3 separate regions of the Homo sapiens genome follow, and all the other regions are linked to region 1. The links are contacts of gene promoters, found by promoter capture Hi-C in human tissues and cell types (Jung and others, 2019). All regions are on one chromosome and are shown on one strand. The core of a region is centred on a gene start or on the middle of the fragment in contact, and the rest is flanking DNA. Distances in the headings are between cores, read along the strand shown.

Evidence for each region. Contacts are between HindIII fragments. The study calls those that stand out against the background at their distance.
Region 2: a contact is called between a fragment that was not itself captured here and the fragment with the promoter of PRSS22 in region 1, in 2 of the 25 tissues and cell types used here (dorsolateral prefrontal cortex and spleen).
Region 3: the fragment with the promoter of KCTD5 here is called in contact with the fragment with the promoter of PRSS22 in region 1 in 4 of the 25 tissues and cell types used here (IMR-90 fibroblasts, aorta, lymphoblastoid cells and 1 more).

What each region holds. Positions count from the first base shown.
Region 1 is chr16:2,855,688-2,860,160 of GRCh38, reverse strand. PRSS22 (serine protease 22) reads left to right here and starts at 1,991. Exons shown (of 6, transcript NM_022119.4): 1 at 1,991-2,138; 2 at 3,313-3,339; 3 at 3,908-4,079; 4 at 4,310-4,473. The coding sequence starts at 2,057. RefSeq lists enhancers at 805-1,404, 1,405-2,005, 2,006-2,606. The HindIII fragment of the contact is 21,792 bases long and covers 1-4,473 here.
Region 2 is chr16:2,654,006-2,658,478 of GRCh38, reverse strand. It overlaps ERVK13-1 (endogenous retrovirus group K13 member 1), which reads left to right. Exons shown (of 3, transcript NR_040023.1): 3 at 1-90. Among named protein-coding and RNA genes, the nearest start is that of ERVK13-1, 17 kb to the left of the region's middle. RefSeq lists an enhancer at 3,832-4,473. The HindIII fragment of the contact is 7,363 bases long and covers 1-4,473 here.
Region 3 is chr16:2,679,967-2,684,439 of GRCh38, reverse strand. KCTD5 (potassium channel tetramerization domain containing 5) reads right to left here and starts at 1,917. Exons shown (of 6, transcript NM_018992.4): 1 at 1,640-1,917. The coding sequence starts at 1,891. RefSeq lists enhancers at 1,235-1,284, 1,355-1,404, 949-1,559 and a silencer at 1,655-1,834. The HindIII fragment of the contact is 14,940 bases long and covers 1-4,473 here.

The sequences.
Region 1 (4,473 bases), core at 742-3,241:
CGGGGGACAGTGAGTAGGGTTGGGGGAGCCCAGCAGAAATTTCTGCTGCAGTGCTGCTGCTGCTCAGAGACACTGCCCCTCCTTGGCCACTCTGCGTGGCCTTTTCCTGCAGTTCCCCCAAACCCCCTCTGAGTCCTGGGACAGAGAATAATGCATCCTCTGGGGCTCCCCAGGGCCCTGCTGTTTGACTTGTCTCTCGGTGGAGCAGGGCATGGCCTCTCTGCCACGAGAAAGTGCCAGTCGTCCTGCTGCCACCCTAACCCTTAACAGACTGAGGAGGTGGGCAGCACAGAGTCCACCCCCAGGGCAAAACCCGTCCTGCTCAGAGCCATGGAGTCCCTGAAGCAGCCATGGTGGTCTGCTAAGCCCCTGACCCACGCCACCCTGACTCTGCAGGGAGCAAGTTAGGGCTCACCCCAGGCAGGGTGAGGCACCTCCTCCAGGCTCCCGAAGCCTCCATGAGGGCAGTCCCAGCAGCCACCCCCAGTGTTGGGGTGCAGGTCCGGCTCCACCACTCACCCAGCAATCTCGGGCAAGTCACTTAACCGCCCTAAGCTGCCTCAGTTTCCTTATCTGCAGAGTGGGAATAATAAAGACATTTGAGGATTAGGAGGCAATGCATGGCACTCCTAAATGTTTGCTCTATTATATAAATACTATATTTATATTTGTATAAATATATTTATTACATACATATTCACTACTATGGTTTTTTTTTTTTTTTTTTGAAACAGAGTCTCGCTCTGTCGCCCAGGCTGGAGTGCAGTGGCGTGATCTCAGCTCACTGCAACCTCCGCCTCCCAGGTTCAAGCGATTCTCCTGCCTCAGCCTCCCAAGTAGATGGGACTAAGGGCGCCTGCCACCATGCCTGGCTAATTTTTTTTTTTTTGTATTTTTAGTAGAGACGGGGTTTTACTATGTTGGCCAGACTGGTATTGAACTCCTGACCTCATGATCTGTCCGTCTTGGCCTCCCAAAGTGCTGGGATTACAGGAATAAGCCACCCCACCCAGACACTATGGTTGTTTTTAATTCACCCCCGGCGGTAGCAAGGGCCCTGCTGGAGGCTTGTTGATCGAATGAGTGAAGGGGCGCAGGCTCCTGCCTCTTTGTAGAGGAGGAAGCCTGCCCTGCTTGGGTGGGAGTGTCCCAAGTGTGGGGCGCTGCAGGGCACTGAGTCAGGGAAGGTCTCACAGGATTCAGCCCCGGGTTGCCACTGTGGCAGCCGCTGGGGGGAAGCACCGAGAATCCACTCCCAGCCCAGGACCCGGCCCCCCACAGCCCAGCCCAGCAGCTCTTTGAATCCTGGGAGTCCCAGCCCTTCCCGGGGCCCCTCTTCTCTCAACCCCCCTGCTTGGCCGAGCCCTGGTGCCCATGGGCTCCTCCCCTTCCCAGGAGTCCAGGTGAGGTGAGTTGTCAGGTGTCTGAACCGCAGGGCAGAGCCCCGCCTCCAGGAACGACAGGAGGGCGGCCACCAGGAGGCCACCAAGGTCGCCACTCACCTGATTCACAGCTTTCGGGAAGTGGGTTAACGGGATTCCCAAGCCCGGGTTGCGCCAGGTCTCTGGGCTGAGTCACAGGGGCCTGGGGCCCTGCAGGTGGGAGCCGTTACTGAGCTTTGGGCACCCCCTTGATCCCTAAGGCCCTAGGACCACCCCCAACACCCAGTACCCCAGACTTCAGCCTCTCCAAACCCAGGCCCTCCCCAGCCCGGAACCCCTTCCTTTCAGTGCCCTGGCACCTTTCTCTGCCCCTGGACAATTAATGTCAGGGACCTCTGGGCCCAAGCCCCCTCCCCTGCCCTTCCAGAGGCCACATCCTGGGGTCTCAGCTAGAGCCCCCCCAGAGCCCTGTAGCGGCTGGCTTCCTCCCCGCAGCCCCGCCCTCTGCCCAGGACCCACAGCCGGGGTGGCCGCGGGAGCCACCTGGGGACTGGTCTGACGGCATTCCGCCTCCCAGGATAAAACCTGGGGCGACCTGCAGGGAACCTACACACCCTGACCCGCATCGCCCTGGGTCTCTCGAGCCTGCTGCCTGCTCCCCCGCCCCACCAGCCATGGTGGTTTCTGGAGCGCCCCCAGCCCTGGGTGGGGGCTGTCTCGGCACCTTCACCTCCCTGCTGCTGCTGGCGTCGACAGGTACGTCCGGAGGCTGCTCCTCCCTCCTCCCTCTCACCTCCACCCTCCTTCCCTCCTTCCCTCCCTCCCTCTCTCCCTCCTGGCCTTGCCTCTCTCATCTCCTTTCCGCTTCTGCTCTGTTTATCTCTTGCTCCTTAACTGCTCTGTGCCTCGGTTTCTTCTACGGCTGTGAGGATGAAACAGAAAACGCAGCAAGTACGCAGCGCGCCTCGGTCTCCAGTTACCGTCGGCGTCGCCATCGCCTGCTCCCTCTCGCCTCCGTGTTCTCCCATCTCCTCGTCCTCCGCTGCTTGCCTCTGGGGAAGCACCGTTTTGTGTTGTTCCTGCCGCAGGAGGTCAGGGGAGGGCACACCAGCGGCAGCAGCGTCCAGAGCCGAGGGGCTCAGGTCTGTGCCTCCCTCGAGGAGCCGGTCCTGGTCCCCGGAAGGCAGGCTGGACGGGAAGCTGCGGGAGGGCAGGGTCACAGCTGTGCAGCCAGGGCCTGGCCAGGCCCCAGGAAATGCCCCGCCGGTAGGGGCCCTGGGGTTGAGAGACTTGAGAGTCTCCCTGGGCACTGGAGGGCTAGAGGTTCCTCACCACCAGGTACTCAAGGGGACCCCCTCCTCACTGGGCGCTGGGACGCCTGCTCACTGGGCGCTGGGACCCCTCCTCACTGGGCGCTGGGACCCCCTCCTCACTGAGCGCTGGGACCCCCTCGTCACTGGGCGCTGGGGACCCCTCCTCACTGGGCGCTGGGGAGCCCTCCTCACTGGGCGCTGGGGACCCCTCCTCACTGGGCGCTGGGGAACCCTCCTCACTAGGCGCTGGGGAGCCCTCCTCACTGGGCGCTGGGGACCCCTCCTCACTGGGTGCTGGGACCCCTTCCCACTGGGCACTGGACCCCTTCTCACTGGGTGCTGGGGGCTTCTCGCTGGGCGCTGAGGGACCCTCCTCACTGGGTACTGGGACCCCTCCTCACTGGGCGCTGAGGGACCCTCCTCAGGGGGTGCTGGGACCCCTCCTCACTGGGCGCTGAGGGACCCTCCTCACTGGGTGCTGGGACCTCCACCTCACTGGGCACTGGGATCCCTTCTTACTGGGTGTTGGGGGCCTTCCTCACTGGGCGTTGAGGGCCCCTCACCACTGTGTCCTGGGGCCCCTCACCGGCCTAACCGTTTCCTTCTCTTGCCCTCAGCCATCCTCAATGCGGCCAGGATACCTGGTGAGTGGAGCTGGCAGCTCTGACGGGAGGGAGAAGGGAGGAGGCCCACGCGCAGGCAGTGTCTATGTGTCCGTCCCCTGGGCACAGGTCAGAAAGGGGCTGGGGTGAGAGGGGGAAAGAGCTAGAGGGGAAGGGAGGCAGGAAGGAGACACGGATGCAAGGAGAAAGGCTTGAGAGATGCCAGGGCCAGAGGAGAGAGAGAGCCAGGAAGGTGAACAGAGTGGAAAGCAGGGTAAGGAAAGAGGGGGAGGGAGAGACCAGGTGCAGCTGACAAGGAGTGAGTGGAAAGGCCAGGGCCAGGTGAGGACCAGCAGAGAGTGAGGATGGAGGGAGGGATGGGACGGGGAGGTGGGCGGAGCTTGGGGTATGGGTGGAGCTTAGGATGTGGGTGGAGCTTGGGGTGTGGGTGGAGCTTGGAGTGCAAGTGAAACTTGGGATGTGGGTAGAGCTTGGGGACATGAACGGAGCTTGGGCTGTGGGCAAAGCTTGGGGTGCAGGCCTAGGGATTGGGATTCCGGGGGTGGGTTGTAGGAAGTTGGAGATAACAAAACTTGACCGTACCCTCCAGTTCCCCCAGCCTGTGGGAAGCCCCAGCAGCTGAACCGGGTTGTGGGCGGCGAGGACAGCACTGACAGCGAGTGGCCCTGGATCGTGAGCATCCAGAAGAATGGGACCCACCACTGCGCAGGTTCTCTGCTCACCAGCCGCTGGGTGATCACTGCTGCCCACTGTTTCAAGGAGTATGTACAGCCGGCCTGGGGCACTTGATCTTCTAAGGCCCTGGGCTTTGTGCCCCAGGCCCTGGGCTCCCTTTACAGGCTCTGCTTCCGGGCCTCTGTTCAATCTTGGTGCCCCTCGATTCTACCTAGAAGCCTCTCCTGCCTTCAGGGGCCTTCACACCCATGCTGTTCCCCCAGGTACCTCCTCCCAGACCAGGCCTGGCTGATCCTCCCCTTCCCTTTCCTTCCAGCAACCTGAACAAACCATACCTGTTCTCTGTGCTGCTGGGGGCCTGGCAGCTGGGGAACCCTGGCTCTCGGTCCCAGAAGGTGGGTGTTGCCTGGGTGGAGCCCCACCCTGTGTATTCCTGGAAGGAAGGTGCCTGTGCAGACATTGCCCTGGTGCGTCTCGAGC
Region 2 (4,473 bases), core at 512-3,011, 200 kb after region 1:
AGGAGAGGCTGTGTGTCTCAGCAGGATGCCAGTCAGGATTCTTCTGGCTATGGGCTTATTTTTTGCAATAAATTCATCGTTAAAGTCCCATTCTTTAACCTGTTTTTTCCCTTTTGGAATTAATTCGACTGCAGTAGGAAGGGGTTGTAGCTGAAAGTGACCGCTGTGCATTGAATGCCATCAGAAAAGGCTGATGAGATTTGCAGGGAAGACTTGAAGCCTCACTGAAATGCGCCTGGCGTGTGTTGACCTTTGCAGTGGAACATGTGGGAAAGGGGCCCGCACTCACTTTTCAGTTCTGCCTCGGTGATTCCAGGAGCCCCGGGGTTGGGAGCGGGGACAGGACCTTGCTCCTGAGTCTTAGGTGTGGTGTCTCTCGCCCCTTGCTGCATTGGCGGGACCCTCGGTGCCGCGGCCTCAGTTGCAGGGCGGCCAGGGCTGCTCCGTGAAGGAGGCGCTCACTCCATGGAGCTGCAGGACGCTGCATTCTCCTCACTCTGGCCATTGCCGCTGTCCTTCCTGCTTCCCCTTTTCTGGTGAGGGAGGGCTCCAAGGACTTGCTGGCTGGTCCCCAGATGCCAGCACTCCTGCATCTTCCCCTCCTCTCCTGGCCTGTCACTTTGTTCCTCCTCTGTGAGGGGCCCAGGCTCGGATGCCCGGCCACGGCCTCTCTTTCCAGCCTGTGCGGCCCAGGTGGGTCCAGGATGTTCCCTGCTGCCCTGTTCTCAGCAGTTCTTGTCTTCTTCAGGCTTTTCCTCCTTGCCTAGAGAAATTTCCCTACATGGAAACCCCTGTGGCTGTACAGTCTTTTCTGACCAATCTGCTGGGTTTTTTGTTTTTTGTTTTTGAGACAGAATCTTGCTCTGTCGCCCAGGCTGGAGTGCATTGCAGTGAAAGTGGCAATATCTGGCATTTGTAGATGGAAGCTGGAACTCAGTACAGGTGGGAACGTAAGCGCCTGTCGTTGCTGAGGTGGGGCAGCAGTCAGTTGCCAGCGCGTGTTCAAACACAGGCTGATTCAACAGTTCCCGTTCTGGGAATTTAAGATCGGAAAATAATTAAAGTGTATGCAAAGATTTTGCTACTAGAATATTTGTCACAGCTTTGAAATAGGGGAGAACTGGAAATATCTTGAATTTCCCTCAGGCAGAGATAGGTAGAAACATTGTGGTGAAGTCTGTGTCGTCCCTCAGGATCTGTGGGAAATTGGTCCCAGGACCTCTCTCAGATACCAGAGTCGGAGGGTGCTGAAGCCCTTGCTCTGAAGTGGTATAGTGTTTGCATATAATCTGTGCACACCCTCCTGTGTACTCTGTCATCACCAGATTACATATAATGCCTAATGTAATGTAAATGCTATGTAAATAGTTGCTTTACTATATTCTTTAGGGAATAATGACAAGAAAAAAAGTCTGTGCATGTTCAGTACAGATGCAATTTCTTGTTTTTCTAATATTTTCTATCCACTGTTGGTTGAATCCATGCATGTGGAGTCAACCTATGGATGGGGATGGCAGACTGTACTCTCCTGACAGGTGGTTACAAAGTATTTCTATCTGAAAAGAGCTGGCTGCAAAGCAGCATGCCCAGTATAACTTTCCTCAGGCCCAGGGAAAAGCTTGGAGGGAGGTTCCCACAGAAACATTAGCAGTGGTTTCCTGGGCCAGTGGGATAAGGACCAGGCATTGTGCTAGCAGTGGAGAAACAGTGGTGAATAAGGTAGGTCTGGCTCTGTCTCCTGGAGCTTACTGGACTGAAGATGAACCTTTCTCCACTAATTTTTATTCTGAAAAATTTCAAAACTAAAGAAGAGTTGAACGCATAGTACAATGAATATCCCTAGCCTTTCACCTGGATTCTACCAGTTGTTAACCTTTTCCATATTTGCTTGTATATGTTACCCTCTCACCTCCCCAAATTTTTTTCTATTATTTTTATTATTTGAAAGTAAGTCACACACATGATAGCATTTCACCCCAGAATCCTTCTCCAGGTGCCTTCTGAGCTCAGAAGCTGTCTCCTCTACAACCTCATCATTATCACATCCGAGATAGAATTAACATTGCATTTTCTTTTTTTTTTTTTTTTTGTTTTTTTGAGATGGAATCTCATGCTGTTGCCCAGGCTGGAGTGCAGTACTTTGATTTTGGCTCATTGAAACCTCCACCTCCTGGGTTCAAGTGATTCACCTGCCTCAGCCTCCCAAGTGGCTGGGACTACAAGTGTGTACCACCGTGCCTGGCTAATTTTTGTATTTTTAGTAGAGATGGAGTTTTATCATAACATGGCATTTTCTAATGCAAAGGTGACATGCAGCCTTCCTCAGTGGTCCCCAGTCCTCCTCAAAGTCCTTTATAGAGACAGTTTTACTCTGTTGCCCAAACTGGAATGCAGTGGTGTGATCATAGCTCACTGCAGCCTTGAACTCCCCTGGGCTCAAGCCATCCCCCAGCCTTAGCCTCCTGAGTTGCTGGGACTACAGGCCTGTGCCGCCACACCTAGCTAATCTTTTTTTTTTTTTTTTTTGAGATGGAGTCTCAAACTTGTCACCCAGCCTGGAGTGCAGTGGCACGATCTTGGCTCACTGCAACATCCGCCTCCCAGTTTCACGCCATTCTCCTGCCTCAGCCTCCTGAGTAGCTGAGATTACAGGCATGCGTCACCATGCCTGGCTAATTTTGTATTTTTAGTAGAGACGCGTTTCCACCATATTGGCCAGGCTGGTCTTGAACTCCTGACCTCGTGATCCAGCCTCCTTGGCCTCCTAAAGTGCTGGGATTACAGGCGTGAGCCACTGCACCCAGCCTAATTTTTGTATTTTTAGTAGAGGCAGGGTTTCACCATGTTGGTCACGCTGGTGTTGAACTCCTGACCTCACATGATCCACCCAACTTGGCCTCCCAAAGTGCTGGGATTAGAGGCATGAGCCACCATGCCCAATCTCTGCACCATGCCCAGTATCCCTTAGTGGCCCTTCTGACTTTACACTGCTTTTCCCTCCTGACAGCGGGGCCCTGCTTTCGTGGTCTGTATCCTGCTTGAGCAAGGTGCCATGAGGCTTTTCCTAGGCCTTGACTTTGCTGTAGCTTCTAAGGTGTCCTGTGGCGGCAAAAGGGACGTGTGCTCTGTGGGTGGGTGCAGCCACCTGTAGAGCTGCAGCTATATCCCCAGGATGGTTGTGTGACTGATGGTCCTTGGGGAGCCCAGCAGTGAGGATCTCAGCAGCCCACCTGTCTCAGAGTCCCCGCTGTGCACCCAGGCCCAGGGCTCAGTGAGTGAGAGCTCTCCGACCTCGGTGGGGGCGGGGCTAATTGACCTTCAGACCCACCGTGTGCCAGTGCTGGCTGGCACACAGCACTGCTTGGACTTCCCCTGTGGGAAAGGATGGGGACAGATCAGTCTTTGGAAGAATGGAGCGCTGGCTTTGCTCAGCCCTGTTCTTGGGAAGGTTTGATCTGGAGAGCCGCAGCAGCCAGACCCTGGGGAGGCAGGTTAGTGAGCAGGCTCCCAACTTACGAGCTAGGAAGGCTGACGGCTGTTCATTTCCCCCCATGTGGACCTCATCGGGGGTCCTTCCTGAGGGCGAGCGCTAGGTTCGTCTGCGTTTCTCTCTCCCAGTTGGGCCTGACTCTGGACGCCAGGCTGAGGGAGTACACAGCTCCTTCAGAGCACGGGCTCAGACGCTCAGATGCTCGGAGCGCTTCCGGCTGCTTTTCCATGGGTAACTCACATGTTCTTCCTGCAGGCTGGCATTTGTCTTTCATGGCTTTTTTCCATCGGTCAGAATTACAGTCTTTTGATTGTATGTACGTACCTGGTTATTATCAGATATCTAGTTTAAAATGTGCATCTGAATATAGATTTTCTTGGTGAACGCATTGCGTTCTCATTCCGTAAAAAGTCGGAAGCTCAAAATGATGCTTAAAAAAAAATCTTAGCAAGCTCTCCTGTGCAGATGCTGCTGGCGCTGAGCTTTGTGCCTGGGGCAGAAAGGGTGAGGACGGCCCCGGTTGGTTTAGGAAAAGTGGTTATGAACAGAACGGGCCCCATGCTCCTGGCCTGAGGAAATGTTGTGTGAAAAAGATGGCTTCTACAGCTTGAAGGGGGACGGTCCACCTGATGCTCCTGTCCCTCTCTGAGCCCCAGGGGCAGAAGGGAAACAGTCAATAGCACGGCCGTTGCAGATGGTGCCCATAGAGGGAGGGTAGTTAGTGTCTGAGCAGGAGAGGGTGACCGGCCTTTGTGGGGCTGCTTCAGAGAGCCGGGCAGAGTCTGGGCCCCAACGTGGACTAGCAGGGGAGGAGCTCTCCTGGCTGGGGTGGCGACTCGGGGAGGTCTGGGTTGCCTGAGCAGGGAATCGGCCTCCAGTGGGGGAGGTTCTGAGTGGGACGCGCTCTTCGTGTGGGCCTGGAGGACCTCTAGGCGGCCTGCACTCGCCTGATACAGCTGGCTTCTGCTGGGAGGCTGGGTTTG
Region 3 (4,473 bases), core at 668-3,167, 180 kb after region 1:
TTGGTTTTGAACGAGATCCACCTGCCTGGGCCTCCCAAAGTGTTGGGATTACAGGCATGAGCCACCGCGCCTGGCCCATAATTTTTAACAAAGTCTTAAGGAACAGTAAAGCAAAGGGATCAACCACCTTAACTGTGCTAAAGTTCATCAACTGGGAATCAAGTGCTCCAGTGCTGAATAGACAACCATTGCCTCAAAGAACCCAATGGACAAGAGCAATTTAAACTCTAATTTCATATACAAAACAGGAATGCTTGAGTAGAAAGGCAAGGGAGTGACCACTAAGCCCTGTTATTTAAAAAGAAAAACCAAACAGTAAAACATACACCCACACTTATAAAAGGAAAATCACAGCTAACAAACGCCTATTTCTATCCTGGGGATGACTGTCATTTCCTGGGAGGTCAATTCTCTGAGTAGAGGGCTTGGTCAAATGAGCAATGGAAACAGTTGGAAGTTGTGGGGAGGCACAGGAGGGTTGGCATCTCAAACCCTCATTTCCACCCACAAGGCTGCCTTAGCAGTAACTCCAGATTCTCACTTCCTGATCACGGTCATGCCATGCTGAGAATGGTCTCAGTCAGGCTTCTCAAACTTGAAGAGGGATCCGAACCTTTCTGGGAAGCCTCCTGCATGGCAAATGTTGGCTGCCAAGGCACAAAGCCAAGCGCAGTCATGTAAGCTCAACTGAAAGACCCCGCAAAGTTAGTATAAGGCTTGTGAACTGCCTTGAATAAATATAGGTAACAACTTCTTCAAACAGGCTTTTTTGTGAGTTTCAATCCTGCACAACTCCCAAGACACGGTTCCTCGGCTCCACAACTCTTGATAAATAAAGGTAGCAAAAGGTTTCTATTACCATCTACCCAACAGCATGAGCATTTCGCTTGATGAAAGACAAGCTGCAAACTAACCTGGAAATTCCTGTCCTTTTGCGAAGACAGTGGGAAAACTAAGCCAATTAGAAAGCAGATTGAAAGATTCCTTACCTGACCCTTCCTGGACATCCCTAAAGCAACCCTTAATATGAGCAAAATCCCCTTCGAAAAATCATACTATATACTACGGACGCATCTTCTAAGAGGTGCTGAGTGGGTGCTGCGTGCTGTGGATGGAAAGGATGGAGCGCCAACTCTCTAAATGCAAGTCACCAGGGAAAAAAAGGGCCGCCCATATCAACCCCCACGTCAGCGTTAATTCAAACGTCCAGAATGTGAAACAACGCCAAGGGTTCTGTTTCCAGAGCCAGCAAGTACCCTGGGACAGAGAAGAGAAGGCGTTCACACACCCTGGGCAAAAGAACCTAGTGAGAAAAAGAAAGTAGAATCACAGCAAAGTCCGGGGTCTAGGAAGCCTCCTCCACCAAAGAGCAAAGAGGGCGAGGAAGAGACACCCCCAAGGTGAATCGACTCAGGATCCTCAAAGGCAGTGGACGCCAGGGCGCCATCCTCACCCTCCCCTCCCAGGGTAGGGGATCGGGGCAAGCTGGGGAGGAGCTGGCGACAAGGGAGCGCGGGGCTCGAAGCCCGAGGAGAGTCGCCCGCTCCCGCTGAAGTCTCCTCCGCACGAAGCAGGGCGTGTGCAGGAGCCGCAGGCCGGGAAGGCCAGGACCCTCCGGGCTGGCCCGTGAGGCCCTCACCTTGTCTGAGTCCAGGTCGGGATCGGCCTGGCATAAGCGGTACAGGAAGGATTTCGGGTCCCGGCACAGGGTCTGCCGAGTGGTGAGGAAGTAGGTGCCGCCGACGTTGAGTCGGACCCACTTGGACACGCTGCCAGGGCGCTGGGCCAGGGCGCCGAGCCCAGCGCTGCAGCGGCGGCACAGGCCGCCCCCCAGCCCCGCCCCGATGCCGCCCCGGGCCGGCGACAGGAGCTCGCAGTGATTCTCCGCCATGATCCCAGCAAGCCCCGCAACAGCTCCCTTCCACCGGAAGCGTCCGGCTTTTAATAGCGTCCTCTGAGTTCTGTCCCGCCCACAGGTCCGCCCTGGTAGAGCGCCCGCCCCGGCGTCACGCGGTAGGCGGAAGTTCCGGTCCCGAAAAGCAGGAGGCTGGGCCCGCTTCCGGCGGGAGCGGAGCACGGGGTGATCTGGGCACTAACGCTGATGGGGAGCAGCGGACATCAGCCTCGACCTCCCACGAGCGGTGCACGAGCGCCTGACCCAGACCTCGACCCTAGCCTTCACCCCCACCCTGACTCCAGTTCATGAACTGGTCAAAGGAAGAGCCATGCCAGCAAACGTCTACACTGTACATGCTTTTTATTACAAGACTACGGAGCATAGGAGGAAAATTCATCATCTGGTAACTACACCTAAAGCACAAATATTTGGGGGGAAAAAAAGAACAGATTCATTAAATTATATGATTAAATCATTGACCCAATAGAAAATTTATATAATAAGGGCGGGGCCTGGTGGCTCACGCCTGTAATCCCAGCACTTTGGGAGGCCGAGGCGGGAGGATCAGGCGGTCAGGAGATCGAGACCACGCTGGCCAACATGGTGAGGCCCGGTCTCCACTGAAAATACAAAAATTAGCCTGGCGCGGTGGTGGGCGCCGGTAATCCAAGCTACTCGGGAGGCTGCGGCAGGAGAATGGCGTGAACCCGGGAGGCAGAGGTTGCAGTGAGCTGAGATCTCGCCACTGCACTCCAGCCTGGTGATAGGGCGAGAGTCTGTCTCAAAAAAAAAAAAAGAAAGTTTTTGTAATAAAGCCAGAAAAAAGTTGTAAAATATATAGTAATTATTCACATTCAAGGCTGTATATCAATACATATAACAACGTGGCCCCGAACATGAATTCAATACAAATAATTCATATATTAGAATTTAGGCCGGGCGCGGTGGCTCATGTCTGTAATCCCAACACTTTGGGAGGCCAAGGTGGGTGGATCACGAGGTCAGGAGTTCAACATCAGCCTGGCCAAGATGGTGAATCTCCGTCTCTACCAAAAATACAAAAAATTAGCCAGATGTGGTTGTGGGCGCTCGTAATCCCAGCTACTCGGAGGCTGAGGCAGAGAATTGCTTAAACCCAGGAGGCGGAGGTTGCAGTTAGCCGAGATCAGGCCACTGCACTCTAGCCTGGGCGACAGAGTGAGACTCCGTCTCAAGAAAAAAAAAGAATTTAAATAACAGGCTGAACTAGAGGCCAACAATAGCCAGCAAATAACCTTCTATAAGATTAAAAACACAAAAGTGTATATCCTAATACCATTGTATTATTTGTTTTCATGAGTTCTTTTAATTTTTGCTTTGTCTGTACATCACAGTTACAGCTACAGACCAGGTAGAGAATATTACGCATGTTCTGACTGCCACCCACCTGAAAGACGTACTAGTCATTTATCCTATTTCATGTTGTGAAGGAACAGCTACAGCAGCTCTAAATACTGTAACAATTTAATTTTGCCAACATCCAACTTAACAGTCGTAATAGAGGCTTTTACCAGCACAATGACCCCTATTCGTAGTCATTCTGCCAGACGGTTAGGCTATGTGGGTTACACAGCTTAAAAAAGGTCTGCCTTTTGTAAAAAGTTCTCTGTACATAGTTTGGTGTTTCTTCATATGGAAGAAATGAGTTATGGGGAAAATTCAGGTACACACGTAGGCTCGTTCAGTTGCTCACCACAGCCATCTCAACAGATGAAAGTGCTCTTTGTTGGAAACAGCTTCCTCCTCACACCAGTTCTCCACAGGCAGCCTCATCTACAACCCTGCAATTTTGGGCCAGAAGTGGTGGCCCCTCAGAGGCTCTGAAGTGCCTCCAGCCCCGATTCAGGCACTTGCCACGTGTGCTGCGTAAGAAGGGACCCCACCCAGTGAGTCAACATAGGCTCATGTCAAGTTTGAAAATAACTGGGGAAAAGTGTATGACAACATCTTCCAGAACATAGTACCTTCACCGTATTCTCACAGCAGCTGCGATCTCTGAAGTCTCAGCAGTGAGCACCCCGGGTCTGTCAACCAGCCAGGCAAGGGGGGGCCCTCAGGCTTCAGAGGGCAAGAAACCAAATTCCGTGCAATTTGGCCATAATCTCTGGTAGAGTGAAGCAGCACTGAACGCAGTGCCTAGAAAAACCTCCTGCACGTTCCCCTGCACAATCAATGGACCCCAACTACAGTGGAGAAATGAAGAATCCAACCAAATTTGGGTGGTCTGGACTTGCTGCCAGCCAGGCAATCTGCAACACTGTGGGCAGGGAGATGGGGGGAGGCGGCCTGAAATCTACACCAGCTGGGACAACCACGCCCTACAATGAAAAAGCCAGCCTGGCTGCTGGGCTCTTGTGAACCACTAAGACCTGAAGGTGGGGGGGTGGAAGGGGGAGACAAATGCACTCTTGTAAAACCCAATCAGCTACGTGGTTTTTTTCAAGTAGAGGCTTTGCTCTGCTACTGACTCCAAATGGCCTAATGTACTTTCTGAGTCTATAAACTTAATTACAGATCACTCACTAAGCATGTGGCAA